Linked DNA regions of Homo sapiens: regions 2, 3 and 4 are each linked to region 1. Evidence: promoter capture Hi-C in 16 types of primary human blood cells and fetal thymus (Javierre and others, 2016). All regions are on one chromosome and are shown on one strand. The core of a region is centred on a gene start or on the middle of the fragment in contact, and the rest is flanking DNA. Distances in the headings are between cores, read along the strand shown. Region 1 holds the start of GJD4 (gap junction protein delta 4). Region 2 has its middle 250 kb from the start of ANKRD30A. Region 3 has its middle 270 kb from the start of ANKRD30A. Region 4 has its middle 330 kb from the start of ANKRD30A.

Region 1 (5,925 bases), core at 1,507-4,006:
ACTTCTCTGTGGGCCGCGACACGTAGCAGTCCACCACGCCCGTGCACGGAGGGCGCGTGCAAGGGAACTTCTTCGGGGCCAGGAATCCAAAGAGAAAGTAGTGCAAGGCCCCGAAGGCTGCCTCCAGCAGGGTCCGGAGGAGGAGGTGGATGATGTAGCCGGCCGAAAAGTCGGGCACCTGGAGGCCGCCGCGCTCCCCGAATGGCCGCGGGCAGCGTCTCTGCCCGGAGGCCGGCTCCCGGGGGTCGGGGCAGCGGCGGGGGCCCAGCGCGGCGAGCGTGGCTCCTCGGTGCAGGACATAGACGCTGAAGACGGCGGAGGGGAGGAGGACGCACACGCCCTGGATCAGCCAGAACCGCAGGTGAGACACGGGGGAGAAGACGTCGTAGCAAACATTGGCGCATCCCGGCTGCAGCGTGTTGCAGACAAACCTCTCCTGCTCGTCCTGGTAGACGGGTCGCCCCGCCAAGACAATCACCAGCATCCGCAGCAGCATCGTGAGGACGAACCAGAGCTTTCCTGGAAGAGAGGAAGCGGGCATGGCCTCATCACCCCGAATACACTGCCCTGAGTAACAGCTTTAAAGTGTCTATTGGGGCTGAGATTGGGAAATTGAAACGTCAATAAGCATGTCTTTAGTTTTCTGTTTGTTTGTGTTGTCGTTGTTGTTGTTGTTGGACACAGGGTCGTGCTATATTGCCCAGGCTGGTCTTGAACTCCTGGCCTCAAGTGCTCCTGCCGCCTTGGCCTCTTGAGTAGCTGGGATTACAGGCATGAGCCACCACACCTGTCAGCTTGTCTTTACTCACAGCATCAGGTAGTTCATTTGACAAATATTTACTGAGCACTGAACATCCTTGTTTGTAAGATGCTTCAAGATGAGTAGATTTTTAAAAAGCATTATATTAAAAGTGTTTTAATCTGTCTGCTAATTCAGACTTTTGGTAATGTCTCCTGGACTGATAGGTCCAGAAAGAAAGTTTGGCTGAGCAAATTAATGATTTAAATAAGATTTAAATTTTCTTCTTAGGAGAATAAGCCTTTTAAAAGAGGTTGGTGTATTTCTGTAACTGCCAATTCGAGCTGCTGATTTCAGTAAATCTTACTTATGACAACAGTCCAGGGATCTCTATTTAATCACAGGGCTTGTATTTAATGTTAGTCTACGGCCCTTGAAATTGAATTTCTTTATGAACATTCCATTTTTCAGATTTTTTAATCATTCAGAATTCCTCTTCCCCTTTTCCAGTTATTAGGAATGAATGGGGCTTGTCTTTCTTCAATGTATCGTGAAGGAATGACACCAAGCTAGAAAACCAAAATAACTGTCAAGCCCTATTTTCATGGCACCGGCCAACTGTTTCGAAACATGTTTAAAACTCAGCCAAAATAACTTGTGAATATTGTGTTTTGTGATGAGAGAAACATCGCCTGACATCATAAAAACAAAACAAAAATAAATATGTAAAGACAGTCAAACAAAGAATAATATCATTATGTGATGAGTCATTGAGTTGAACTTTTAACATCAAGTTGGTTTTGTCTAAATCTACAAAATAATGAGCCAGAAAAGTATCAACTGCATCTCCGGCATATATTCATCCTTTTCTGACCCCCATACCTCTCTGAAAATGTGAGTCGTCTGCATTAAACAAAAATCTATTATTTTCTTTGTTAAAAAAAATAACTAAACTTGGGATTTGGTTTAAAGTGCACAAGAGAAATGGCTACTCCTTAAAAATTAAGCTTCCAGGCCAGGCGTGGTAACTCACGCCTGTAATCCCAGCACTTTGGGAAGCCAAGGCGGGTGGCTCACGAGGTCAGGAGATCGAGACCATCCTGGCTAACACGGTGAAACCCCGTCTCTACTAAAAACACAGAAAATTAGCTGGGCGTGGTGGCAGGCGCCTGTAGTCCCAGCTACTCGGGAGGCTGAGGCAGGAGAATCACTTGAACCCGGGAGGCAGAGGTTGCAGTGAGCTGAGATTGCATCACTGCACTCCAGCCTGGGCAACAGAGTGAGACTCTGTCTCCAAAAACAAAAAAAAAAAACCAAGCTTCCAGAATAAAACCTAAAGGTATCACCTTCTGATTAACATTTGTTGTTCTGTTCCTTTTCCTGGTAACGTAGCCACACCAGGGTTGCACACAAACACCCCTCCACCTGCTTTGGTCTTTGGAGTCAGCACCCCAGTGTCAGCACAGGATGATCTGTGAGAGAACAATGTCAAACGCAAGACTCCCTTACATGACGGAGGAACCGCGGAACCATTCAAAGAAACTAGAAGCCTCAGCTCTCTTCCCTCCAGAAAGGCACAGCCCTTTCTTTTGGGAGTGGGTGGACTTTCAGCTTGGTGCTTGCACACTGAAAATGAGTAAATACCTGGACCCTTTAAGGACTCAATTCCACCATGGCAGTGGAAATAAAAACAGCGCAGGAGTTTGGAGATGGTCCCAATACTCACCCACCATGGTCACGTTGCAGTTTAATGTGATGATGAGAAACCCTAGCAAGTCCACGCCTTCCATGCTTCCAGAATGTCCCAGGCTCCAGGCTGCAGGAGACACTGGAGGGCTGTGTTCTCCAAGGAGGCGGATAAATGTCCTTTAACTACATAAGACTTAAAGGTGTGAGCTGGAGATAAGAAAGCAAAGGTCTGAGCCAGGAGTAGGAGGTGGGTTTTTCTGTCTCCAAGTTGAGACGGCCCTAAGCCGTTTGCCTCTGAGGCGAAACATTCCTGACAACTGCAGTGACCAGCAGAGCAAGCAGCAGTCATCTCTTATTGTGGGCTATTCTTACTCGCCTGGGATATTCCCGGCCTGTGGCAGCGCTCATATGTCCCCACCAGGACAGCCAGATGCTTCAGGATATAATAGCAGCAACTACTTTTAACCCAAGAAAGAAAACTTCTGCTAACTAGCCAAGTAAATTTCTCTATTAAAAAGGCATTTCCTCCTTGAAAACATTTCCACAACCACTTCACTTGTGCAAGAAGCCCTTAAAGTGTTCACGTTTTGTCTTCTCAATCAAGCATGAATCGCCATGCCACCATCACACGAACCCACAAGGATCTCGCCCTTATTCTGAATTCCTGTGTCATTGGTGCAGGCAGAAATCTGAAACTCAGTTGGGTGTCCCAACTTTAGACCGTGACTTGGTTATTCTCCTGCTGCTTCCTGTGCAGTGAGTGACAACTCTTCGCTTGGAGACAAAAGCCTGGGTGCAAAGCCCGGGGCAGCCCCCTACTCACTGGGGAAGTCATTGGATCCTTCCAGATAGCCTCATCTTGCAATAAGGAGAATCATGCCATTCCACTTGCCATTTGTGGGAGGCTTATGTGAAATGATGGTGTAGAATAAGAGCAACTGGTGTGAAGTGGGTGTACGACAACCCATATCCGTGGGATTTCAATCCCTAATTGGCCTCTACGACCTTCACAGATTACATCTTCCCTTTGTATCTCCCAGCCCCATCTAGCCTGGAGCTGTTCCCATTGAATCTACTTAATAAATGTCTGTTAAATCTGTCATGAAATATCACGGTCTGGACCTGCTGACATCAATCACAGTTGCGTCAAAATCCTATCGCTGCAGCCACCTTCATATCTGGGAAGAACCCATCCTGCAGGGTTGGGGATCTATGATCAGGGTGGAAATTGTAAACTTTAAAAGGAATGATTTCAATTTTCCATGAAAGCTATTCTTTATATCCCCATCTTTTCTTCATTTCTGATCTATTCTTGACTTTAGTAATATCCCTAGAAAGATTCCCAGAAGAGTGCAACAAAGCTACTTTCATCTTTGCTCACATGACATGCTCCCATCCACGGAAAACGTTTTGACCCCCTTGAAAGGAACAGTGGTTTTGCTATATTTTAGTCAAATGCTTCGACATGAGCAAGGAAATTTGAGAAATTGTAGTTAAGTAAAAATATTGAAATAGTCACAGGGTGTAAGTATAAAATAAAGGAGAATTTGTCTCCTAATAGACTGCTCATGGTATTGGCTTTAAAAAAAAAATGAAATATCAGGAAAGCAATTACTGACTCTTGCTGTGTGATAGAAATAGCCCATCCCAAATGTGGAATAAATTAGCCCTGCGCGACCATGAGCAAATCACTGCAGCTTTTCATGCTTCGGTTTTCTCATCAGTGAAGCAGAAAAAAAGAATGTGTTCTTCACCCACTCACAGTGACTGTGATATGCAAATGTGACCAGAGATGTGAAAATGATTTTGAAATGTAAAGAATGACCCAGTGTCAGTGACAGGCGCTTCTCAGGGTTGGCTCCTCTGGTCCCACCCTTCAGGGCATCTTCTGAGCAGCCCATGCCCACCCATCTCCCTTCTCATCCTGGTCACCTTTGCTCTTCCTCCTTGAAGTCTACCCCATCCCCATTCCTTGTCTTTTTTCTCTTTCTCTTTTTTTCCTCTCTCCTGCTAGGTGACATTTTGCTTTACTTGGAAATCTAACTCTGGTCAGGCGCGGTGGCTCACGCCTGTAAATCCCAGCACTTTGGGAGGCTGAGGTGGGTGGATCACCTGAGGTCAGGAGTTCAAGACTAGCCTGGCCAACATGGCGAAACCCCATCTCTACTAAAAATACAATAATTAGCCGGGCATGGTGGTGGGCACCTGTAGTCCCAGCTACTTGGGAGGCTGAGTCAGGAGAATCACTTGAACTCAGGAGGCGGAGGTTGCAGTGAGCCCAGATCACACACCACTGTACTCTAGCCTGGGTGACAGAGCGAGACTACATCTCAAAAAAGAAAAGAAATCCTAACTCCAGTGGCTACCTGAAGCTAGCTGGAGGTAAGGGAAGCAGAGAAGGTGGAGGCATCTGGGCATCAACTCCCGACTCTCTGTAAGAGCATCCCAGCACCGATGGGAAGGTTTCTGTATGTGTCTGTGGATTAGAGAGAAGATGTGGGGAGTGCTGTGTTCAACCCATGGCCAAAGAAACCAGCTGGGAGTCGGGCTGAAGTGTACAAGATGCCAAACTGGGATAGTTCACTAAACGCAAGTGGTCAGCATGGGCCCTGTGGCTCACATCTGTAATCCCAGCACTTTGAGAGGCCGAGGATGGAGGATCACTTGAGGCCGGAAGTTCAAGTGATCACCCTGGGCAACATAGAGAGCCTCATCTCTACAAAAATGTTTTTAAATTAACCAAGTGTTGGCATGCTTGTGATCCCAGCTACTCAGGAGGCTGAGGTGGGAGGATCACTTGAGCCCAGGAGGTCAAGGCTGCAGTGAGCCATGATCATGCCACTGCACTCTACCTTGGGCCTCAAAGCAAGACCCTGTATCTAGAAAAAAGAAGAAAGTGTTAGCAAAAAGGAAAGAGAACAATAGCACTACATGGCACTCAGCCTTGGCCTCACCTCTCTCTAGTGTAGTGACTTTGGCAAATTATCTAGGCCTCAGTTTTACCATCTATAAACTGGGGTAATGATACTAAACGTACAGGGTTGAGAATTAGTGTTCATTTAAATAAGGTTCTAGCACATTATCTGCCCGGTAAGAAGCTCTCAAAATATGATGAGTTCAGTCAATTCTCATTATTCATAGTAGCTATGTTTTATAAAGTTACCACCAGCACTGCAATAGTGAATACTAGGGGCTCCTTGGGGAAATACACAGTTAGGTGACAACACTTTCACCAATCAATTAACACATTGCCTTATTTTATGTGTGTGTCTGTTCAAATAAATCTTATTTAATATATATTAAACATATATTAACCCATTCACATTAAATCATGGCCCACAGCACTATCACTCACATCTGAATGAAACCCATCTAACACATTCTGAATGTACTTTCTCTGCAAGCCCTGGCACAGCCCTCCTGCACTCAGAAGAACCAGCCAGCACTCGTGCAGCGCTGTGCTTGGGACCATTTTATTTTATTATTAAAAAAAATTT
Region 2 (5,925 bases), core at 1,404-3,903, 1.3 Mb before region 1:
GGGCACACCCATCAGTCAGGTCCCTTTGTAGCTCTTTCCATTGGCTTCTCATATTTTTCATCCCTCTTGTCAACAGAGTCAGTGTTTTCTTGATTTTTTTTAAATAAAAAGCTCATGCTTTTTGAAATTTAATTATATTTCTTGGACTGATATTTTCCTGTTTATTTTATACTAAAAACATGTTTTTCTTCTGAATTATTCCTTTCCATTAATGCTGTAGGGTGTTTTTAAACGTTCAAAAGTTGTTTTAGATTGTGTTGTTTTAATTAATTTTATTCTGTTCCTCATCTTTTAAATAAATTAGACCAGGCGTTTTGCTAATAACACTGCATGGATAAATTCTCCTTGGCCCCAGTTACCGTTCACCTGATTGCTGTTTCAATTTTCACTTCAGACCTTAAACTGAAGAGTGGAATGATTGTCACAGTCTCTAGCCATATTCTAGTGATTGCCATTTGTTTTATAAAGTTCTGAAAGAGATAAAAATATGTATGATGCTCTTTCCTAGTTATATGAATATATGTAAGAGAGTTTAGTCATAAATTATTTGATGCATACACTAACATAAATTTTTGAAAAACAGAGGAAAAAAGCATAACCAATTCCCAAGGAGCATGACTCTCTTAAGTTCTTTCTTACCCATTCCTTTTGACTTTAGTATTCAAAAGTCAATATTTTAGGACACCTTGCTAATCTACTTCTATCCCCGATGGTTTTGCAATAATGAATAAGTAGGTTTCCACATAAATGAGGACAATGTTTCACTAATGGACTGTGAAGGAATGCAGGGAAAGAAACAGACAAATAGACATGGGTAGGCGGGAGTCACCGGGACAGCTTCTTCTGAATAGTGAAGGCGCAGGTCTGAGGTAGGGAGTATGCCGTTGGGTAGACAGAAACCTTTTATCCCTCTTCTAACTAGCCCCAGTATTTTGTCATTGACTCCATCTCCACGTTGGTAATGGGAAATTCTCATAGTTTCTGACAGAAATAGCTTCTTTGTATACAGCCTTTAAGAGAAACGCTTATATTGTTGAACATTAATTTCTTTAATAAATGAGGAGGTATGCATGATTTGATTATGTGAGGAAAACCATATCATCAAAACAATTGCACTTTTGTAATTAAATTTTGGGAATTATACACTAAATTATTGTGCATTTCTAAATCAAAACATACTAAGGAATCTTCTGTGTTAGAGAGCATTATCACCACTACTCCCACCACTACAGCCAGCATAATCATATATTTTCTTATTGGTGTATATTTTGTACCAGGAAAGTGGTAAACATGTTACATTCATATATTCATTTACTTATGTTAAAACGTTATCACATAGGTATCATTATTATCCCCACTTGACAGACAAGGCAAATGAGTGAAAAAGTTACTAACTAAATTGATAAGGGTCACAGAACTAGTTAGATCCAATAGGTGATTTGTGCTCTTAAATACCAAGGTAGAGCAGAAACTTAGAAATTACTTTTAAGGACTGGACATTTCTGTGTTAGACATTCTCAAACCACCAGAGAGAACAGTTAAGATGTTTATTTGAGGAGATTTCTAAATAGCATCCATGCTATTAATAGACTACCTGTGCCTATTCTACTCCACAAGTATTCTAGAACCTGTGAGAATTTTTAAAGTATCCCCAGGTGATTGTTCTTAATCCTTACTCCTCCCTAGTTAAAAGTCCTAAAAAATAAGGATAACTGAGAAATAGAATAATGCTTCTCATACTTAAATGTATATGGCAATCAGCTAAGAATTTTGGTAAAATGCAGATTCTAACTCAGCAAGTTTGGGATAGAGCCTGAGATTCTGCATACCTAGCAAACTTCCAAGCAATGTTGATACTGCTTGTCCGTGGACCACTCTGAGTAGCAAGGGTCTAGATTATTTGGAACTTGCTGCTAACCGGCCCAGTTACCCAAATATCATCAACGTAATGGACCAAAATGATATTTGGCAAAAATATTCAGATTATTATTTTGAATGTTATATTCATCTGACTTATCTAGTCATATAATTGTTCTTATAGCATTTTAATAGATACATTTTTAAAATCTGAACCATATTATCTTGATCTTCTTGTATGCTTTTTCTCACTTAAATTTATTTTCTATGATAATTTTATTTGATCTGTTTGTCTGTCTTAGATCTAGATAGAGAATGGTCTTAAGAGGATGAATATAAATGATAATTGGTATTTCATTCATTGAAATGTAACAATTTTTTGACGTTGAGAATACAAAATGTCGATATGTGAATGCATATACATTAGGAGGGCTGTTTTGACTGCTATCGTTGTCCTCCTAAAAGCTGGACAACGGCTTTGGATTGTCTACATTCTCTGGACAATAAATGGATTGTCTACATTCTCTGGAAATTCACATTGCATGAGAAGAGAACTAGTCTTCTAAATTTGAAGAACAGCCTTAAAGCTCAGTTTTCAAGTATGCACAAAGATACTGCTATGGTTTAAATGTGTCCTCCAAAAAGCATGTGTTGGAAACTTAATCCCCACTGCAATAGTGTTAAAAGGTAGAACAGTTAAGAAGTGACTAAGTCATGAGGATGCCAGCCTCATGAATGGATTAAGGCTGTTATTGCAGAAGTGGGTTCCTTATCATGGGAGTAGTTTATAAAAGGATGAGTTTGGCTTCCTCTTATTCTCTCTTATACTCTTTGCCTTTTGGCTTTTCACCATGAGATGACACAGCAAGAAGGCCCCATCAGATGCGAGCTTCCCAATCTTGGACCTGTCGGCCACCAGAACTGTAGGAAATACATTTCTCTTTACTATTAATTATGCAGTCTATGATATTCTGTTAAAGCCACACAAAATGGACAAGACAGATATTGTGAAGGATATTGATGAACAATATTTTTTCTATGACCAAGAACAATGATATACATTTAATTTTGCAGATAATCAGGTGATTAAGACTTATTTCAGCTTCTTCAAGCATCTGCAGAACTGGTAAAGCCCAGTGCTGGTTCTACCAGCACTGCTGTGTCCTGCAGGGCTCTTTGCTAGAAGCAACAAGGCCCTAATCATACTCTTTTCTTGTCTGGATTTTGACTTTCCTCCAATGGTATGCCTCAGTTTCTGTCTATGTTCCTTATTTTAGAGATGGCTCCTGCTGAGTTGCTCAGGCTGTTCTCAAACTCCTGAGCTCCAGCAATTCTCCCACCTCAGCTTCCTGAGTAGCTGAGATGACAGGCACAAGTCACTGCACCCAGCTGCTGCCTATATTTTTAAACCTGGTTCCTCAACCTTCCAGCCAAATCTGGGAACTCCATGACATTCATCCAATAAATTAGGTGTCTGTTTAAAACAACTGGATTTTCTTTCTGTTGTTTGCCCTGATTAATAGACAGCTTTGATCTGCTTCAGCTCAGTCATTTGGGCTTCTGTTTCTTATAACCGAAGAGCTTTGATTTAGGCTCTTTTCAAATAAAAAAACCACAATAAATGGAAAGCCAGACACTTCTATCACATTGTTTTTCAAGTTGAAAAGAGATTATACAGTAGTAATTCTTCATCATTTTGGGATCACTAAAAGTAAAAATCATTGTTGGAGATTACTGTACCCACACTCCAGAAAGATGTGCATCTATATATACACAAATAAATTTGCTTATAATATTCGGGAGTTCTGAGACAGAACAATGGAGTCAGGTAAAATGTTATAAAATACACTTAATTTTTTTCAAAGAAAAGAATATAGAATTTATTTTAGAATTTATATTTTCCAGCTGGCCGCAGTAGCTCACACCTGTAATCCCAGCACTTTGGGAGGCCGAGGAGGGCAGATCACGAGGTCAGGAGATCGAGACCATCTTGGCTAACACGGTGAAACCCCGTCTCTACTAAAAATACAAAAAAAAAAAAATTAGCCGGGCGTGGTGGTGGACGCCTGTAGTCCCAACTACTCTGGAGGCTGAGGCAGGAGAATGGTGTGAACCCGGGAGGCGGAGCTTGCAGTGAGCCTACATCGCGCCACTGCACTCCAGCCTGGACGACAGAGCGAGACTCCGCCTCAAAAAAAAAGAAACATTTTATTTTCCAATCTCTTGTCCAAAAATAGATATTGTGTACAGTCTCATTCTTGCCTGTTACAAATAGCTCATTCTGACTTTGGTTTACTAATGTCACTAATGTCTTTGACAATGGTCTCTGGATTGTTTGTTTGTTTTGTTTTGTTCTGTTTGAGACAGAGTCTCGCTCTGTCACCCAGGCTGGAATGCAGTGGCACGATCTCGGCTCACTTGCAAGCTCCGCCTCCGGAGTTCACGCCATTCTCCTGCCTCAGCCTCCTGAGTAGCTGGGACTACAGGTGCCCACCATCATGCCTGGCTAATTTTTTTGTATTTTTAGTACAGAAGGGGTTTCACCGCGTTAGCCAGGATAGTCTCGATCTCCTGACCTCATGATCTGCGCTCCTAGGCCTCCCAAAGTGCTGGGCTTACAGGCGAGAGCCACCATGCCCGGCCTCTGGCCCCTGGGTTTTTAATCCATGTTCACACTTCTCATTCTAGGATGGAAGTCCTAATTTAAAGTCAATGACATGGTAAACCCATTAAGTATTCTTATTAGCTTCCTTTCAAGGGATCCTAGATTATGCAGTGTAGGATTTATGTAATGCAAGACCTAGCTGCGAAATAATTGGGGATCAGTAAGTATTGGAGGCAGGAGGAGCCACAAATGATATTCTGAAACATCATGTCCAATTCCATAATAAACCTCTGCTTCATGTGCAAACTGACAAGCAATCCACCTAATGTTACCAGGTTTAACCTTTTCTTTTCACACTGAATTCTGTTTCACTTTTTCACATTTACTCTTTTGATTATTTTCCAGAAAAGCAAAAAAGTAGTCTTAAAAAAGAAAACTGAAAAGCCAATTGAAAAACAATCCGTTTTTAAAATAATTGATTTTAATGCTTCCCCATCAGCAACAACTGATTCCAATTTAATGCACAATATCTTCTTTAATTGTAATAAAAGGCTTATTAGAGGCTCTCGATTTACAGAAGGATTTATCCAATTTCAGCTGAAGCTGCCCATTCCTTTTTAGATGCTTTCCAAGGCAGATTGTCTGCAGTTAGTATGCGGCTCAGTGACCCTCTGTTGTCTCGGCTCCACACTGTGGTTTGGTGCCACAGGTGCATTTAGCCAAAATATGGGGAAAAGTGCAAAGGAGGAGGAGGGAGCACACAGAGAAAAAAGAGAGGGAGATGCCAGAAAGACAAAGACTGCAAAGAAACAAAAGCAATAAAAATGCACAGAAATCAGATATTTTGCACACTAGATCTTGACTTCTGCCTATCTTTCCTATTTGTCAAGGTCAGTTAAATAACCTAAGGTTATTTATTTGAGAACTTTAGTAAGATAGTGTGTGACAGGTGTGAAGGACATGACCATCCCTCAATAGCACATGGCAGGCAGGTGTGCAGTGCCGGATGGCAAGTGAGGAGGAAGCTGTGCTGACTTTTACTTACTATTTTCACCCTTTTCTTCTTCCTTTTCATCAAATATTTGTTGATTGGCTCCTGTGTTCTATTTGGCCAGTTCTATTTGGCCTCTAAGGTGTGCTGTTCATTGGATGATATTTATTAATATTTAGAGGGAAAAGTGGTCAGAACACCTTGCAGGGCAATGCAAATGCACCTACTCTTACGGACGTACTAAGAAGCACTAAGTGAAAGGAAAGGCCAAATGAAGAAGTGAAACACACGTTTGCTAGGGATCTGGTAGTACTTGGTTCTGGTTTCAGCTTTGTTGTGTATTAACTGTTTAATCATCGACAAAATCACTGACATCCAAACCTCTGTTCTTCACCCATGTGAGATCTTGTTGGAGCTGTGTTCAGGGTTACATAAAGCTGTGAATGAAAACGGCAGAGAAGAGAACCCAAAC
Region 3 (5,925 bases), core at 2,381-4,880, 1.3 Mb before region 1:
AAGAAATATAGGAAGTGATATACAGGCAGAAAGGCCAAAGGCCTAAAAATACCAATAATGTCAATGAAAAAGGGTCAGTCATAATGAGAGCCAAAAGGAGTGAGATTATGTCAGAAAGTGGAGCGTTTACTTCCATTTCAAAGGTAAATTTACTCCAGTGGAGACGAGGCCCAGGATGTGGCAAGGCAACAGATGACCAATGTGGCATGGAGGTAAAGGTCTGTAGATGAAGAGATTAAGACCTGAGAGGCTGGAGTGCCACATAGAGATCCCAAGTCAGCCATAATGATGGCTGGTGCTGGGGAAATGACATGGGTCATGATTCAAAGAAGAAAATCATTGCCTGAGGAGAGGACATCAGAAGATGAGAAAGAGTAAGAGCTTGCAAGCATGAATATGAGCCTTCATGTCTCTCTGTATCCATGTCTTTGACAATTAAAGCTCTTTAAATCTTCCCATCTAGGAGTCTATTTCCTGTGCCCCTGAATTTGTGTTCATCTCATAATTTGTCTCAGTGGATGTACTTATTATGTGGTGGAAAGGATGGAAGCCAATTTGGAGCCTAGGCTTCAAAAATCTTGAATGTTTCCACTTGCTTTCTTGTATAACCCTCCCAGCCATCATATGAATCAGTCTAGGCTACTCTGCTGGGGAATGACAGATGACATCAAGAAGAAATACATGGTCCCAGCTGTTATTGTCCTAGTCTAGTCACCTCTCAGTTAATCTAAAAGCAATAGTGATTCCAATTGAGACCAGATAACAGCCCAGCTGAGCACAGTCCAAATTGCTGTCCTGGAGAATTATGAGTTGAGCAAATGATTGTTTTTATAAGTCATTAGGTTTAAGGCAGTTTGTCATGCAGCAAAACTAAACAAATACAAAAATGACTATGACGGGAAAGTATAGAAAGTACAATAACTGAATGATATGAGCCTCCAAGAAGCAGTGTCTTTTAAATAAAGACACAGTTTACTCCATTAGGTCTAAAAAGTGGTTGTGATAATTGGAGGGGCACTAAAATATTGGATGTCATTTTTCTCCCCCTTTTATGTGGGACTCTGGGGGACAGTGTATGACAAATAATAATTTATGTGTTATATAGATTTGGGGAACTCCAAACACATGTTCAGTTACACAGTCACTTAAATGAATTTAAAACTAGTTCTTATATTTTTATATGTGATTATTACATCTTATGTCTTTATATGAGTGGTGTTTATAAGAAAAAATAATTTGTATGTTTAAAACCCAGTTCTTATCCCCTTAATCTGAACTGGCCTCTCTTTTTGGAAAAATTATTCCAATTCTGCTTTTCCTGCTAGGTTGAACTTCATGCTCATCTGATCCTATATTAGATTGCCTAGCTATTTCATTTTTTATTGATTACCTTATTCTATTACTAATGTTCAAAGTATCTGGTATCTGATAATACCATCAGATATGTTCTTCTCATATGTCATTGAGGATAAACATTTGTAACATAGTCTCAAACTCAGCCTTTATAAATTTTGACACCCTTTTTTTGTATTTACTGACCCTCTGACTTTGAGCCTCTGTGTAAAGAAATTCCAAATTTGCCATTCCTCTAATTAATTGTTCTTTTGATTCTGGCCACCCATACAGTGATCCTCTCTTCCATTGCAAAACACAGCATTGACCCTCCTTGGTATTAGAAAGTATGCCTTGTCATTATCTCCCCATAGTGCCTAGGGAAGTACTGCACAATATATAGAGCATGCTCAATGACATGTTCATGACTTATCTTTAAAATAAGCATTTGACATGTATTCATGTCAAGATTAGGCTAAAAATTAGAAGATTATAAAAATATTTGGAACAATAGACATCCAATAAACACGACGCTTTCAGTAATAGTCTTAAACAATATATTCTTTCCTGTTTGGTGGAAATATTTCAGCATCAATGACAAAATCTGATGATCTTGGGTATTATTTCTACTTGTATTTTCTTCTCTGGCATCTGTCATTCTTCATACAAGTACCATATCAAACCATTCTATTTTACCTCAATCTTCTTCAGACTGTCTGGCTATTAATGAATTAATTAAAATTGGCATAAATACGAACATTTTCCCTTTCAGTAAAAAAGTTCTCTTCTTTAATCCACCTCTTAAACTCTTGCCAATTTTTTTTTTATTATTATACTTTAAGTTTTAGGGTAAATGGGCACAACGTGCAGGTTTGTTACATATGTATACATGTGCCATGTTGGTGTGCTGCACCCATTAACTCGTCATTTAGCATTAGGTATATCTCCTAATGCTATCCCTCCCCCCTCCCCCCACCCACAACAGTCCCCAGAGTGTGATGTTCCCCTTCCTGTGTCCATGTGTTCTCATTGTTCAATTCCCATCTAAGAGTGAGAATATGGGGTGTCTGGTTTTTTGTCCTTGCGATAGTTTACTGAGAATGATGATTTCCAATTTCATCCATGTCCCTACAAAGGACATGAACTCATTAAATTTGATAGAACACATTAGCAGGAAGAAGGATAAAAGTTACATGATGACCTCAATAGATGAAGAAAAATGTTTTTAAAAATTCAATGACTTTGATATGTTTTGGCTTTGTGTCCCCACCAAAATGTCATCTTGAATTGTAATCCCCATAATCTCCATGTATCTAGGGAAATACCTGGCAGGAGGTGATTGGATCATGGGGCGGCGTCCCGCATGCTGTTCTCGTGATAGTGAGTGAGTTCTCATGAGGTCTGATAGTTTGATAAGGCAGTTTTCCCTGCTTTTGCTCACACTATCTCCTGTCATCTTGTAATAAAGTTACTTGTTTCCTCTTCTGCCATAATTGTAAATTTCCTGAGGGCTCCCCAGTCATGTGAAACTGTGAGTCAATTAAACCTCTTTCCTTTATAAATTACCCAGTCTTGGGTATTTCTCTACACCAGTATGAAAACGGACTAATACAAACTTTCACAATAAAAACCCTCAATAAATGAGACACAATGTGAAGAAATGTACCTCAACATAATAAAGGCTATATATGACAAGCCCACAGCTAACAGCATACTCATAAGTGAAAAGTTAAAAGCTTCTCCTCTAAGATGCAATACAAGGCAAGGATGCCTATATTTACCACCTTTATTCAACATAGTACTAAAAGTCCTAGCCAGAGCAATTAGACAAGAAAAAAATAAATGGCAAACACAAAAGAAAGAAATAAAATTATTTTTATTTTTTCAGATAACATAATCTTACATGTAGAAAATTAAATTATAAAGAATCCACTAGCACAAAATACTTAGAACCAATAAACTAATTTTTAAAGTTGTAATATACAAAATTAATGTACAAAAATTTGTTGCATTTCTGTACATTAGCAATGAAATATCTGAAAAGTAAATCAAGGGGAAAATCCTATTTACAATAGCATCTAAAGGAATGAGATATTTAGAAACAAACAATCAAAGAGGTGAAAAACTTGTACACTGAAAACTACAAAACACTAATGAAAGAAATTAAAGATGCAAATAAATGAAAAGACATACCACATTTGTGGACTGGAGAACCTCATATTGTTAAAATGTTTATACTACCCAAAGTGATCTACAAATTTAATCCTATCCCCATCAAAATCCCAATGGCAATCCTATAGATATACAAAAAAAATCTTAAAATTCATATGGAGCCACAAAAGACCCTAAATTGCCAAAGCAATCTTGAGAAAGAGCAAATATTGATACTCCCTGATTGAAATCAGAAAATATCACAAATCAGGGAGTACCACACTTCCTGATTTTAAAATATATTACAAAGATTGAAACAGTATGGTAATGTCATAAAAACAGACATGAAGGCCAATGGGAAAGAATAAAGAGCTCAGAAATAAACACAGGCACTTACACTCAACTGATCTTCCACAAGGTTCTCAAGAATACACAATGGGGAAGTGATAATCTCTTCAATAGGGTGGGGGAAACTGGATATCCACATCAAAAGAAATTGGACACTTATCTTCCACCACAAACAAAAATCAACTAAAATAGATTGAAGACTTAAAAGTAAGACCTAAAACTGTAAAACTTACAAAAAAAAAAAATAAGGGAAAATCGTTATGACATTGGTCTTGGCAATGATTTCTTGGATATGACACCAGAAGCAGTGGCAACAAAAGCAAGAATAGACCAGTGGAAAGACATCAGACTAAGAAGCTTCTGTACAGAAAAGAAAAAGAAACCTGACAGAGTGAAAAGAGAACCTATGAAATGACAGAAAATATTTGCTAATTATATATCTGATCAGTTTATATCCAAATATCCAAAATACATAAGAAATTCCTATAGCTATGTAGCAAAAAATCAGATAAGCTGATTTTTAAAAATTTGCAATTGGCATGAATAGACATTTTGCCAAAGAAGACATACAAATGAACAACATGTATATGAAAAGTTGTTAATTATCAGGGAAGTTAAAATCAAAACCACAATGACACTTCATATCTGTTAAAATGGCTGTTATTGAAAAATGTAACAAGTGTGGTGAAAATGTGAAAAAATTGGAACACTTGTACACGATGAGAATGTAAAATGGTACAGCCATTATGGAAGACAGTATAGATATTCATTGAAAAATTAAGAATAGAAATACCATACGATCCAGCTTCTGGATATATATCCAAAAATATTGAAATCATTATCGTTAAGAAATACGTGCACTCTCTGATTTATTGCGGTGTTATTCACAGTAGCCAAGACATGGAGACAACTTATATGTCTACTGATAGATGAAAATATGGTATATGCACACTGTGGATGTTATTCAGCCTTAAAAAAGGAAATTCTGTTATTTTTAACAACACTGATAAACCTAGAGAACACTATGCTAAGTGAAATAAGCCCATTACTGAAGTAGATATATTTCATGACTCTACTTACATAAGGTACCCTAAATAGTCAGACTCACCGAAACAGAGAGTAGAATGGTGGTAGGCAGGGGCTGGCACAAGTAGTTGAAAGTAAATGGAAGGAAAAAAACTTACCATGCAAATAGTAAGCACATTTGTGTAGGATTTGGCTACATCAAAATCAGGAAAAAATACATTTTAATACCAAAAGTATTAATAGAGACAAAACAAAACAATTCACAACTATAAAGGGGTCAAATAAAAGATAAGACATAACATCATAAGTGTTTGTGCAGCTAATAACAGAGTTGCAAAGTACAGAAAGCAAAAATGGACAGGAATAGAAAATTCTATCATTGTTAAGGGTGCTGACCCCCACACAGTCAAAAATATAGTATAACTTTTACTCCCCTAGAATGAACTAGTAGTAGCGTACTGCTGACCACAAGCTTTACTGATAGAAAACATAAGCAGTCAATTAAAACATACTTTGTATGTTATATGTGTTGTATGCTATATCCTACAGTAAAGCAAGCTAGAGAAAATAAAATGTTATTAAAACAATCACAAGGAAGACAAAATATATTATCAGCACTTACTTATCAATACCAGAAGTTTACAAAGTCTATTTACAAGATGAATTGGCTGTCTGAGATGATGGGCAACTAGAGCTTAAGAACTCAGTGTGTAGTACATATCAAGTAGCTCAACATTTTCCTGTAATGTCATGAGTTTTCTCTACCTCTTGGGAACGCTTACAGCAGCAATAGTTGCACTTCCTATGCTCCCATGGGGTTATTCAATATTCATGATATTGCATTAAACACAATGAAAAAGACATGAGAACTACAGGAGATTACATTTTTTTTTTTTTTTTGAGACAGTCGGTCACCCAGGCTGGAGTACAATGGTGTAATCTCGGCTCACTGCAACCTCTGCCTCCCAAGTTCAAGCAATTCTCCTGCCTCAGCCTCCTGGGTAGCTGGGATTATAGGCACCTGCCACCACACCAAGCTAATTTTTATATTTTTAGCAGAAACAAGGC
Region 4 (5,925 bases), core at 1,013-3,512, 1.2 Mb before region 1:
CACTTAAGCTTGACATTGAATGTTTACAGAGTGGTTATTCTAGGTGACATGGAGAAGAGGTCTTGGAATATACTGCAAGACTTTAAATTAGTTTTATTGGTTTATGTGGAAGCCTGTGAAATAAAGAATTTCAGTGGTGATATTTGTACTTAATACAATGATATCTGTACTTAATATTTGTACCAAATTTGTGTATTGAAAGTTTGAAAATAAGGACAGAAGAGATTCCTGTGAGATAAGTGTTGCTATTGCCTTGCAATATTATCCAAATTCTCCATTTGGCCAGAAAATCAGTCTTAGAGTTGTATGTATACTCACAGAAGGTTGGGCTGTCATATGGAGATATTTAGCTCTTAAAAAAAAATTTTTTTTTGAGATGGTGTCTTGCTCTGTTGCCTAGGCTGGAGTGTAGTGGTGTGATCTCGGCTCACCACAACCTCCGCCTCCCCAGCTCAAGCAATCCTCCTGCCTCAGCCTCCTGAGTAGCTGGGACTGCAGGCACAAGCCACCACGCCCAGCTAATTTTTGTATTTTTAGTAGAGACGCAGTTTCACTACGTTGGCCAGGCTAGTCTTGAACTCCTGACGTCATGATCTGCCTGCCTCAGCCTCCCAAAGTGCTAGGATTATAGGCGTGAGCCACCACACCTGGCCTAAAAATTTTTTAATAAGTCAAAGCAAGAAGAAAACTTCGTATCAACTCTAAGGGAACAAAGTTTTTATCAAGCTTCGTTCATAAGCCTTCCATGAATAGATCCAGTGGTCCTCAAGTGGTTAGACCTAGGGCTTTTCAAACTCCCCTGAGAAGATGTGACTCACCATTTTAGACTTAGGGTAGCCTCAACTTCCATATAGTTCAACTTTTGAAATTTGAAATCAGAAATAAATATGTATGTTTCACTCATTCAGTCTCTCCCTCATTCATTCATTTATTCATTCATTCACTCTATTGTCTCTTTGACTCATAGTTATTGAATATGCAAATATTGTGTCAGATACTCTGACAGGCACTGGAGACATACATGTGAATATCATGACATCTTTCTTCAAGGATATTCTAGTGAAAGGAACAAGAAAACAAATAAAAAACTATAGAGGGATAAATGAAATGGAGAATACATTTTAACTCTCCTGTTTTATATGATCGAGGAGGTCTGTTCTGACAGTGGCAACATTTGATGTGATTTTTGAAGAATTTGCAGAAATTGTTTAGGCTTTCACGGCTAGAAGGGCCTTTTGAGCAGAGGGAGGAAGTATTTAGTGTTGATTAATTTGCAAGATGATATATTCGAAAAAATACAAACAGTTTGATTTGCATTCAGTGCACAATTGTTGAGTCTGAATATGACTCTGAAGATGTGTCTGGAAAGGTAAAAATAAGCCAAAGGAAGTCCATATACATCAAAATATAGGTTAATATTATGTCCTCCCTCTTGAGGAAGAGAGTGAGTTATAAAATCTTTTAAGTTAGGGAGGGAGCACAGGAGGTTTTTAGGTGGATAAACTATCTTTATGGTACCTTATTTTTGAATACATGTCATTATGCATTTGTCAAAATGCACTGACACTGATAATAAACCTTAATGAATGCAAATTTTGAGAATTATTTAGCAGCTCATGAAGAAAGTTAGAATGTAACAAAACAATCTAACTGTATTAAAAACCTGTGAAGCAACCTCACCAACAACAGTGGGGAAAAGTTGCTCACTAAAGTAATTTAAGAAATGAGTGAGGTTTGTAAAACTCAAGGGAAAAGGAACAGTAGGTAACACTGTATTCTAGTTGATAAAGGTGTTTCTTACAGGAGTACAGGCTAACAATTCTGATACTGCTATGCATGTACACTAGAATCAAACAATTAAATCATTGATTGGATGATGACTGAAGCCAGGTTTTTCACTGTTGGAGTAAGAGACTACAGAAACATAAGAGGAGAAGGCTAGAATGATCCATATGTAATAGATCAGAATTGGAAATATCAGCATGAAATCATGTTTAGCTTAATACAGATGTAGAGTATAAAATATATATGTAATTACGTACATACAAATGACTTTGTATTCACATATGTAGTTATTTTCTTTGTCAGCTGAGAAGGGCTAGAAGCAACAACATCCAGGTAGAAATGAGTATGCCTAGTACCCAGATCTTGGTTGCTAACACAGTTCTCCAATAAAATGATTCAGTGATCTTTGGATAAATGGCTGCAATGAACAGAATGTTTGTTTACCCCCAAAATTGATATGTTGAAGGCTAATCTCCAATGTCATGGCATTAGAAGGTGGAATCTTTGGGAGGTAACCATGTCATGAAGGTGGAGAACTCATTTATAAGATCAGTGCTCGTATAAGAAGAGATGTGAGAGGGCTTTCTCTCTCTCTGTTTCCCACCATGTGGTAATACAAACCTCACCATACACCAGATCTGCTGGCACCTTGATTTTGGACTTCCCAGCCTCCAAAATTGTGAGAAATGAATATTTGTTTAGGCCACCTAGTCGATGACATAATTGTTATAGAAGCCCCAACTGACTGAAACAATGGCTGATTCTAGGACTGGTACAGAAAATAGACAAGGTGAGCCTGGAGCATGTAGTAGTGCCAGAAAGTGAAGAAAGCTGGCAAATCAAATTAAAAAAAAAAACCTGCAATAATGAACATATGACAAAGGCACACTGGAGCCAACTGAAAGTGTTTCTAATGACCAAAACTGAAACAACAGTTTTTCACATGTAAAGTGTATGGAAGATCTTATAGTAAGCAACTTAAAAAGCTGTGAACTGTCACCAAATTTGTCATCAATGGCTCACATCCCAACAAATGCACAGAAATCTATTCACCTAGAAGTTATCGTGCCTCATTCCATCCAAGTAAAGGACTGCCCTCATTACACCCTTTACAAAACAGATGCTACTCTTCATTACAATTCAATAAAGCACATTTAGCTTTAAAACAAAAAATAAAAATAAAAACAGGTTCATTTATTTCTTTTGATCTTTCATTATAACTTTCACATACTTAATATTTGAAAAAATGAGATTAATTTTCTTTGAGATTTCTTTCAGATATGTTTGTAGAAAATTCAAATGAATGTTATTTGACAAAGTTCATTCAAATTCAGTATTAAATATTACATTCCATAAGGCATATAGTTCTTTAAAAAATATATACAGATAACATGTCAGACAGATGTCACTGATATCATGTATCGAAAACAGAAACTATTGTGATGACCTCCTCCCTTACCTTTTCCAGATGCTGAACTTGATGGAAGCATGTGTCTTTATCCCAGCATATATGAAGTCCTTCTATGTGCTATTTTAAAAGAAGACTAGGGCTGGGCACGGTGGCTGACACCTATAATCCCAGCACTTTGGGAGGCTGAGGTGGGCGGATCCTTTGAGGTCTGGAGTTCGAGAGCAAACTGACCAACATGGTGAAACCCCATCTCTACTAAAAATACAAAAAAAATTAGCTGGGCGTAGTGGTTCACACCTGTAATCCCAGCTACTCAGAAGGCTGAGGCAGAAGAATTGCTTGAACCCGGGAGGCGGAGGTTGCAGTGAGCCCAGATCGCACCACTGCACTCCAGCCTAGGCAACAGAGCGAGACTCCGTCTCAAAAATAAATAAATAAATAATAAATAATAAATAAAAGAAGACTATATATCTTGTATGTATGCAGAAAGTACTCTCAATCAAATATCAAGGGAGAATTTTGTACATTTGTAATCTTTTTCAATAGTTTTTCTCTCACAGGATTTTCAGAACATAAAAAAATTACTAAAACTTAAAGCTTAGAAACAAAAATGAAAACAAGCAAACAGAAAACCCACAAAGACAAAGACAAGACCAGGACCTGCACGCTAAACACTAAAGGTATTCTTAGGAAATTTAGGTGGATTCATAAACACGAATCTGAGTCATAAATTTTTTATCAATTAACCTTTCTTAATTCAGATTTCAATGTTTACTAAGATTTTAAAGCACTCAATAATCTTCTGATAAATTTCAGGTGGATTTTAAATTAAAAATCTGTTTTAAACTGAAAAGCTTTATCACTATTTTTGATTAGGGAGTTGGTAGATAGGAGGAAAAAGCCAAACACAGCTAATTTTCTTATTTAGAAGGTATTAAGAGGTAGTGAGAAATTTCACATGCATATACAACAAATTTAGTCAGATATGAGAGATCATGTCAGTATATTAGGAAAATACACCCACCTTCTATGGATCTAACTAGTATTTTTACTATGTTTCCTTTTCAACTAGATTTTCTTATGCCTTCTGCTGTATTTAGCAGAGATTTTATGTTTAGCCTTAGATGTGACTCAAGTATCAAAACAAATGCTATAAAATGGTAATAGTATATTTTGTATGTTTTATTTTTCACAGTTCTTCTACATATTCATTAGAAGATAAATTCTTTATATATTCTTTTTGAGATAAAAAAGTACATGAGTTGACACACTTGGTCTAATTATTAGGGAATCCTCAAACATGGTCATACCAGTTGGCATAAAAATCTAGTAGAAGACAGGAGATGCAGGAAAGGGTGAACTTAGAAAGAGTGAACTGATCAAATAGAGCAATGTATAGATGGAAACATAGGATTTCCACTGAGAGATGACCCTTGTCGCCCACTGGATTATCTTAGACCAACGAATCATAGATTACCTCATGAGAATGATGTCATTTCTTAAGGAAAATTAATCAATTTCAGTGAAGAAAGTATGGCTTAGAGAATTTGTCCCACTGAGCCTCATAAGTTTCATTCTTCATTTATCATTTTTCAGCATTCTTAGAGGATATTTAAATAACAGGTAGTGACATTCTCTTCACTGTGTGGTGTTTCGTGAATTAGGGCTTTACTGTGGCTCATTAGGCCTGTTATGATAATGGAATCCTCTCTTTATCTCATGTCCTGTATCTTCACACTACTGTCATTTGTGTTCTTCTCCTTCTTGCTGCAGAAACTGTGCCAACTCTTATAGCCTAGCCCTATGGCCACTTTTCAGCCCATCCCAATGAGATGTCATTATAGCACCCAGCACTTTTGGCTACCCTCTGAGTTTGGATTCTGAAATTAGGGTAGGCATCCCTAAAGTCCTCATTCAACCACATACTAACAACAGCCCTTGTGACTTGAAAACCCTTGAAAAAATGACTTAAGCTGCATAAGCCTCAGTTCTGTTGTCTGTAAAATGGATGGAATAATAATAATAGTGCCTGCCTCATGAGATTGTTTCAATATTAAACAAAATGATGCCTATATACTTCCTATCAGGCAGATAGTAACTGCTTAATCAGTTCAGTCATCATCAATGTTATACATACTTAACAGCACTCTTTAAGGTCCTTCTCCTTGCTTCCTCTTCACCTCTCTCTGCTCCATTAGTGGCTCGTGTTTATTCCCAGGTTTCACTTTTCACCATTCTGCAAATTCTTACCAGAAACCCTGCAAATTCCACCTGCTTGCTGATTACTTCCAAGTGTGTATCTCAACCCAGGTATGAAGAGACTTGTTTATTCAATTTGCACAACATGTTTATTGCTTCTTCAAATATAGAAGTTATATTTTCTTTCTTTTTGTATTTCCATGCAAAGCACTTCATGCAGGACTGGCTACTCAGAAGTGTTAACTAAATATCTATTGAGTGAGAAGGACCATCAAACTCATTGCTTTTCTATTTTCTCTCTAGCTTTTGTCTTTACTTGGGCTTATTGTTCTGGGTAAAATCTTAGGGAAGAAAACCTATTTCTGGATTAATATTTTGTTTCCTACCCAATTTAGAACTGGTAGAAGATCCTTAATAAATATCTGTTGCCAAAGAGAAAAGCACTTTTTTATCAAAAAATAAGTATTTAATAGGAAGTTGTGAAAAGAAGTGATATCCCTGGTGGCTGAGAGATGGTGGATCCCTGTACC

Evidence for each region. Contacts are between HindIII fragments. The CHiCAGO score rates a contact against its expected background, and 5 or more counts as called.
Region 2: a fragment that was not itself captured here is called in contact with the fragment with the promoter of GJD4 in region 1 in 3 of 17 cell types (endothelial precursors, M2 macrophages and M1 macrophages); the score reaches 6.7 in endothelial precursors.
Region 3: a fragment that was not itself captured here is called in contact with the fragment with the promoter of GJD4 in region 1 in 1 of 17 cell types (endothelial precursors); the score reaches 5.4 in endothelial precursors.
Region 4: a contact is called between a fragment that was not itself captured here and the fragment with the promoter of GJD4 in region 1, in 1 of 17 cell types (endothelial precursors). The highest score is 7.6, in endothelial precursors.

What each region holds. Positions count from the first base shown.
Region 1 is chr10:35,602,172-35,608,096 of GRCh38, reverse strand. It overlaps GJD4 (gap junction protein delta 4), which reads right to left and starts at 2,756. Exons shown (of 2, transcript NM_153368.3): 1 at 2,466-2,756; 2 at 1-519. The coding sequence starts at 2,529. GJD4-AS1 (GJD4 antisense RNA 1) reads left to right here. Exons shown (of 2, transcript NR_199600.1): 1 at 1-571; 2 at 2,132-3,535. The HindIII fragment of the contact is 9,701 bases long and covers 2,060-5,925 here.
Region 2 is chr10:36,872,717-36,878,641 of GRCh38, reverse strand. No RefSeq gene overlaps it. Among named protein-coding and RNA genes, the nearest start is that of ANKRD30A, 250 kb to the left of the region's middle. The HindIII fragment of the contact is 7,453 bases long and covers 1-5,925 here.
Region 3 is chr10:36,853,569-36,859,493 of GRCh38, reverse strand. No RefSeq gene overlaps it. Among named protein-coding and RNA genes, the nearest start is that of ANKRD30A, 270 kb to the left of the region's middle. The HindIII fragment of the contact is 1,120 bases long and covers 3,071-4,190 here.
Region 4 is chr10:36,793,939-36,799,863 of GRCh38, reverse strand. No RefSeq gene overlaps it. Among named protein-coding and RNA genes, the nearest start is that of ANKRD30A, 330 kb to the left of the region's middle. The HindIII fragment of the contact is 3,067 bases long and covers 729-3,795 here.